2 separate regions of the Homo sapiens genome follow, and region 2 is linked to region 1. Evidence: promoter capture Hi-C in human tissues and cell types (Jung and others, 2019). All regions are on one chromosome and are shown on one strand. Each heading gives the region's core, a stretch centred on a gene start or on the middle of the fragment in contact. The rest is flanking DNA. Distances are from core to core; before and after follow the strand shown.

Region 1 (3,790 bases), core at 1,007-3,506:
AAAAACTCTTATAGGTGCAAGGCACTATGAGAGTTTCTTGGGGGCCACCCCATGACATATCAGAGCATATTAAAATGAACTCATACTGTACATTAAATATAATTTAAATGTAGCTCTGAACATTGAGTTGAATGGCAGGTGACTGGTACCTTTTCTAGGTATTTAAACAATGTTTTCCCAATTTTTCCATTTTCTTCTTTTATTTTGGAGCTAATAATTTTTGTTTTGGGTCCCAAACATTTTCTAGTTTTCTTGAAGAACTTGAGGTGGCAGACACTGAGTCTACAGAACCTAATAGATACAACAGCCTTAGAAATTAGTTCTTGTTTTCTTCTTACTTTTGTAATCAGATAAGCTGTCAACTGAGATCTGACAACTGAACTCCGGTTTTTTAGTTCATGAAAAAGAGCCACATGACTAGTTATTTTTCACTGTGTCAGTTAGCAGGTCTGATCCCTTGAGAAGGAAGAATTGATCTCTTAGGGATATAAAACCCTGCATGCCTTAACATCAATTATAAGTTGCTTCTCAATGTCAACCCGGGCAGCCATTTTTTTTTCCTCAGTAAAAATAGGGAAAACATAAATCAATGTGACAAAATGGTTCCAATTTGATGGCATCTTGGCATTTTGCTGCCTAATCACAACTGAGTGATATAATTCCTAAATGAGAGAATTTTAAGGATTACTTAGGTCTTGTGTATAAAGCTCTGAGTAGAGTTGAGTTATGCTTAGACTTGTGTATAAAGCTCTGAGTAGAGTTGAGTTTGGTCCTAGAGTTTCTCTGCCGTAATACTGCTTGGTTTTGCAAGAATTCTGGTGTGATGATTACAGATCTAGCTTTTTGCTTAGTTAATCAAACCAATATAGTTTCTTTGGCTAAAAGGAATTGATTCATCAAATCTGCAAGCTTTCCCAGCCAAACTCCAGGCTTCAGCTGGATTTCCACTTAACTGTACGGGGTAACAGATCCCAGGCGCCTTTGCTCATATACTTGGAGACCAACTTCGCCAAACTACCCATGCGACTCATGCCTCTGAATGTCCAAAGTCACAGGCCTCGCATTTTCTGTTGATGATAATCTGCTTTGCTAAAAGAAACTCCTGAGTGTAAGGCACAGGTTTTACTTAAAAGTCCAGTTGCAAAGCTTGAATTTACAGTTCTAGGGACACCGAATGCCTGACAATAAACTGGTCTCTAAAGTTATACCATGAGAATGAGTCTGAATTCACCAAGTGGAAAGAATAGGAATGCTGCCCTTAGACTTTAGCCTAGGGGCTGAGGGAGGTCTCGCTGGAAGAGAGGTAAAAGAGAAAAAAGAGGCTGGAGGGAATGTGGGTCCAAATCTCACTCCCCATTTTGAGCTCTTTCCACACCTCCAGTGAAACCGTCACAAAGGGGCTGGAAAGAAAACTTGATCCTGGTGCAAGTCTGTTGGGGAGGGAAGACAGGTGGAGTCCGGGAGGAGATGACAAGTGGCCTCCATTTAGCCATTGATTCATTCATTCATTCAACAAACGTTCTAGAACATACTAGGTTCCAGGCTCTGTGTCATGCAACGTTCTAGAACATACTAGGTTCCAGGCTCTGTGTCATGCAGTTGACTTAACTGGCCCCTAAGGATGAGGCTTTCCGTCTTTCTCCGGGACAAGGCCCAGCTGTCTCCCGGGCAGGGGGACAGGGGGTGCGGGTCGGGGAGGAGGGCTCCTCTGCGCCTCCCTGGTAGCCCAGGTAGCCACTCCCAGAGGGGCCACGACCAACCAGGGCCCTCTCCGCCCACGAGGACGCCAAGCAGACCGCGCCGCCCTGAACCCAGCTCTCAGCCCCCACTCTGCAGGACCCCGCAGAAGGGGCGGGCCGGGAGCCGGGAGGCCGGACCCTGCGCCGCTACCCGCCCGGCCCCGCCCCCACCTTCCGCCCCACCCCGCCGGGCTGCAGGGCTCTGCCTGGCCGGCGCCGACCCCGCCTTACCAGGGTTTTGGCTACGTTCCCCCTCTGGGTGATGTTTTTGCTGTGCTTCTCGTTAGCCATCCGGATCCGCTGTTTGGCCACCATGGCTTGTGCGCTCTGAAATGCTCCCACCTGCAAGGATTCCCCCTGCGTTAGCTCCTGCGACAGGGCCGAGCGCGTCCCGCCGAGGCCCCCGCGGCCCACCCGGGCGCTGCAGGTGGCAAGGCGTGGCCCCGAGCCCTGCGCACCCCGCTCCCCGAGCCCCGGCTAGCCGACTCCAGAGAGAGGCCGCAGCCCGGACGGAAGTAATCTCTCATCTCAGGAAACCCTTTCCGACTTCCTCGCCATCCTTCCGGTCCCCGCAGCCACCTACCCCGCGCGGCCACCGAGGCAGGCGCGACCGCACGTCCTCCCGCGCCGAGCGGCCGGAGCGCAGCGCGCAGAGCCGGGGCCCTGCAGTGTCGCGGTCCTGTAGCCGAATGCTGCGGGGCCGAAGGTTCGGGCGACCACGGCGTTTGTGAGCGCGTCGGGGACGGGGACGCGGCCCCTCCTGTGTTTGTCGGCCGGTGACCCACCCCAGCCCCGGGGAAGGGATGAGGGCGGCCGCGCTTCAGGCCGGGCCGCGCGGTCTCCCCTGCACCGCCGCCCCCTGGACGAGGGCTGGACCCAAGGCGGTGGTCAGGGACCTCAGAACACAAGTAGAACCAGTCCAGGCCCGGGCCCGCGCTGCCCGGGTATGGTCCACCAAACGAGCCTTCTCTTTAAGGGTCTCGAGAAGGGCCCCACGCTGGGGGACCCCACTGCAGAACTTTTCGTGAGGGCTGCAAGGAGGGCCGCGTTGTAAAATAAAGAGGAGACACGAAGCGGCATCCCCTGAGGGTTGGGGATCGGGCCGTGAGGATGGAGTTGGGACAGGCCTTTTTGCTTTGGTAGTTGTAGGGGTTGCATTGGAAGATGGGCCAGCGGCAGAGCGGAGCATGCAGGAAAGAGGAAGAGGCCTTGGACCTGCAGCCCAGGTCGGATTTGGTGGTTACTGTCTAAATCTGAAGCTTTGGCCTGCCTTGACTCCCCACCCACCCAGGGCAGCTTGGACCTCTCTCTAGCCACCCTTGTCCCGAGGGGTCTGAGTGTCTCCCAGACTAAACTGGGCATTTTCTGCAGTGGAAGGATAAAAATGGAAGCGTTTACGCGCCTCCCAGACACTGGTATTAGGGCTCAAGAGCTCTACAGATTGCCTGGGGAGGTAGGGGTGGAAGGGGTTCAGTTCCTCACTTGGAGTTAGCTCTTAGAAGCTCAGAAGAGTGGAGGCGAAGAGGGGACATTCAGCCTGGGAGATCTGGGGCAGCGGGAAGTGGGGATACCGGGTCGGGGTGAAGGCAAGCAGCAGCACCCCCAGCATGGGGAAGAAGGCCTGAGGCTGTCTCTGGCCACTGCATCTCTAGGCCTTCTCTTGGAGCGGGAGGTGGCTGGGTTTCCAGGGAATTTTGTGTGAGTAAAATTTTCCCATGTCATTGGAGAGTTAGGAAGAGCTCCTCTTTTGGGGCCTTTTTCCAAGCGGGTCCCCCTCACCCCGCTACAGGCTTCTTGTCACTCAGGCTTCAATAAAGGCCATTCTGGGGGCTGCTTGCTGTAACCTAGAAGACAGAATTGCCTAGGATCATTAGTAGAGTCATTTTTTTTTTTTCCTACTCTACAGGCCAATTAATTTGAAACAAGCTTCTATGGTCTTTTAACTGTTAGCATCACCACTGTTGTAACAGGACCATAAACCCAGTCTGCCCCACTCTAGTCCCATGTTTTTAATAACTGTTGGCTCTTTTTTAGGGGTTTGGGTGGGGGGA
Region 2 (3,421 bases), core at 41-2,540, 1.3 Mb after region 1:
TCATATATATATACACACACACACATATATATACACACATATACGCATACGCACATATATGTGTGTATATATATATATATAGGTGAATGTTCTGCTGAACCATTGTATTTTTTTAGAAGATATATGGCAAGGTCCATTTTATTCTAGATATTAAGTTTTAGTTGAGCACATAATACAAAATCTGAAAATTACTCCGTCAAAATTTCCTTGATAATTAATTACAATGCTCTGAAAATCAGTTCCACATAGTTTTGTACATAAAACTCCACAACGCATTATGCATACTGAGGTCCACCAACCACTGAACTAAAGTAAACACAAGGAAGGAAAGTTCATATGCACAAGTATGGCATTCAAAACACTCTGCCTTTAAGATAATAATGATCAGACTCCTAATGGTGAGCTCTGGAAATGAGACCTATTCTGCTTTGCTGGCAGTGTTTATTTCCTTTTAGTTATTATTATATTAAGTCTCTTGGACCTTAATACATTTTAATATTAATACATGTTTGTTGCTGTAAAGATTAAACAACATGAGAGAAGCCTAGTTTTTAAGCTTAGTATAAAAACTAAATGTAGCTATGATGATATACCTCCAGTATAACTTTAAATATGATGGTACCTAGACCAGAGATTTCAAACACCTCCCTAGAATGCATCTGGCTGGCAGTGGGGGTATGTGGAGTGGTGTTCTTGGACCTTCTGGCAAATGGAGCAGTTTTGGTTTCATCTTTTTTTTTTTCTACTACTGAGCTTTTGAGTAACATATAGTGATATGGTTTGGCTCTGTCTCCACCCAAATCTTATCTTGAATTATAGCTCCCATAATCCCCTCATGTCATGGGAGGGGAACCGGTGGGAGGTAACTGAATGATGGGGGCGGGTTTTCCTGTGCTGTTCTCATGATAGTGACTAAGTCTCATGAGATCTGATGGTTTTATAAAGGGCAATTCCCCTACACATGCTCTCTTGCCTGCTGCCACTATGTAAGATGTGCCTTTGCTCCTCCTTTGCCTTCTGCCATTATTGAGGCCTCCCCAGCTATGTGGAACTGTGAGTCCATTAAACCTCTTTTTCCTTATAAATTACCCAGTCTTGGGTATTTCTTCATAGCAGCTTGAGAATGGACTAATATAGTTTATAAACAGAATTCTACAAAAGTTTTTAGAAAGCTTAAAAATCATAAATGTGCCAGGCATGGTGGCTTCTGCTTGTAATCCCAGCACTTTGAGAGGCTGAGGCAGGCGGATCACAAAGTCAGGAGATCGAGACCATCCTGCTAACACGGTGAAACCCCGTCTCTACTAAAAATACAAAAAATTAGCCAGGCGTGGTGGTGGGCGCCTGTAGTCCCAGCTACTTGGGAGGCTGAGGCAGGAGAATGGCGTGAACCTGGGAGGCGCAGCTTGCAGTGAGGGGAGATCGTGCCACTGTACTCCAGCCTGGGCAACAGAGCAAGACTCTGTCTCAAAAAAAAAAATCATAAATGTGCATCATTTCATATAATACACAATACTGTTGATAGGTTCTTAAAAACTGTGATTTTAAGCAAAATGATGTATGGCAGGTCCCTGAATAATGTCATTTCCTTCAACATCCTTTCATTGATTTAAAAAATTGGTTTCATTATAGTCATTTTGTTTAAAGTCACAGTTTACAAGAACCCATGGGTGATATTAAGTGAGGACTTACTATACCAGGTATAAAAACAATTTTCCTGGGCAGCTTTGTAAAATAATTCAGGCTTTTTGTTACAGACATGAGTCATATTGCAGGACACTATTCTCTTGCAAGGAAAAACATAAGGCAAAGACTCAAATACACATTTCAATAAACAATTCTCATATGCAATATGTCAGAATGTATAGTATCATCTAGAACACATACAGTATTTTTAAAATAGGTTATCAAAAGGATCGGCTCCATTTTGCCTTCACCTACCTGTTATATAGTCTACACAGCTGAGATTCAATGAATATACTCACATCTTAAAATTATCTTGTCATAATCAACATTGCCTGACTGAAAAGAAAGGGCTAGAGGAAAGCAGATAAGTTTCATTTACCTTTCCACTTAATGTGTTAGGACAAATATCTAGCTTCTGCGTTCGTGACAGACATGGAAAGAAACAGGAGCCAAATTTTTTTCAGCACCTGATATTTGGTAGGTATTATGTAAAAAGGTATCATCATATCATTCTTATATTATTCCAACAAGGCAGAATATTATTACTCTCAATTCAAAAATGAAGAAGCCAAAGTATAGAAAAGCTAAAAACAAAACAAAACAAAAAAGCTTGACCAAGATCATACAGGGCAGCGCCTAAGCGACAGACTCAGGGCAATAATCTGCTTTGCTTGGCTGCTATTTATTGAGTAGTTAGTAAGTACCATGTGTTGCAGACATATGTTCACTGTGGCAATATTTACAACAGCAAACATATGGAATCAACCTAAATGCCCATCAGTGGTAGACAGGATAAAGAAAATGTGGTACATAAACACCATGGAATACTACGCAGCCACAAAAAGTAATGAGATCGTGGGCTTTGCAGAAACATGGATGAACTGGAAGCCATTATCCTCAGCAAACTAATGCAGAAACAGAAAACCAAATATCACATGTTCTCACTTACATGTGGGAGCTAAATAGTAAGAGGGGAAAAACAGACACTGAGGCCTACCTGAGGGTGGAGGGTAGGAGGTAAGAGAGGAGCAGAAAAAATAACTATTGGGTACTAGGCTTAGTACTTGGGTGACAAAATAATCTATACAACAAACCCCTGTGACACAAGTTTATCTTTATAATAAACCTGCACGTGTAACCCTGAACCTAAAAGTTTAAAAAAGAAAAAAACTTCCAAAAAAAGAAATTCACATATATTATATAATTTAATCTTCACGGCAACTTTATGCAGTTAAAACTAATCTATTATCTCTATTTTACAGATGATTAAACTGGGGTCACCCATTTAATAGGTGTTAAACTGGTATTTGTACGCATATATACTTGATACCAGAGTCTGTGCTCTTAATCACTGAATTTTCCAAGTGAATTTTATACAGCTTTCAGTTCTATGGGATAAAACTTTATAAATATATATCTTAAGAGAATGTAAAAATACAGTCAACTCCTGTCTGTCCTAACAACGTAAGTGCCCTGCATAATATTAAAGGATATCCTCAAAAACCTTTGTACTTGGTTTTATAATGTTTTATACTCAGATTTCAAGATAATCAACAGGGTATTTTGGGAGGCCAATAAAAGTTCAGGAAAAATAACAATGCCATTCTGAATGATATTAAGCAAGAAATAGTTGGCAGTATAGCAAACTTCCTAATCTGACCCTCATGCTTAAAATCATTTCCTATTTTCTATTGTCTGGTAAGGAGAGATCTCATCTAAGAAGAGATGAGATCTC

The links. Contacts are between HindIII fragments. The study calls those that stand out against the background at their distance.
Region 2: a fragment that was not itself captured here is called in contact with the fragment with the promoter of SERP2 in region 1 in 1 of the 25 tissues and cell types used here (dorsolateral prefrontal cortex).

Annotation. Positions count from the first base shown.
Region 1 is chr13:44,372,290-44,376,079 of GRCh38, reverse strand. It overlaps SERP2 (stress associated endoplasmic reticulum protein family member 2), which reads right to left and starts at 2,256. Exons shown (of 3, transcript NM_001010897.3): 1 at 1,971-2,256. The coding sequence starts at 2,054. It overlaps LOC105370297 (a long non-coding RNA gene), which reads left to right and starts at 2,514. Exons shown (of 2, transcript XR_001749858.3): 1 at 2,514-2,683; 2 at 2,883-3,790. The HindIII fragment of the contact is 4,304 bases long and covers 1-3,332 here.
Region 2 is chr13:43,079,505-43,082,925 of GRCh38, reverse strand. All of the region lies in intron 4 of DNAJC15 (DnaJ heat shock protein family (Hsp40) member C15), which reads right to left. Among named protein-coding and RNA genes, the nearest start is that of LINC00400, 32 kb to the left of the region's middle. The HindIII fragment of the contact is 3,912 bases long and covers 1-3,246 here.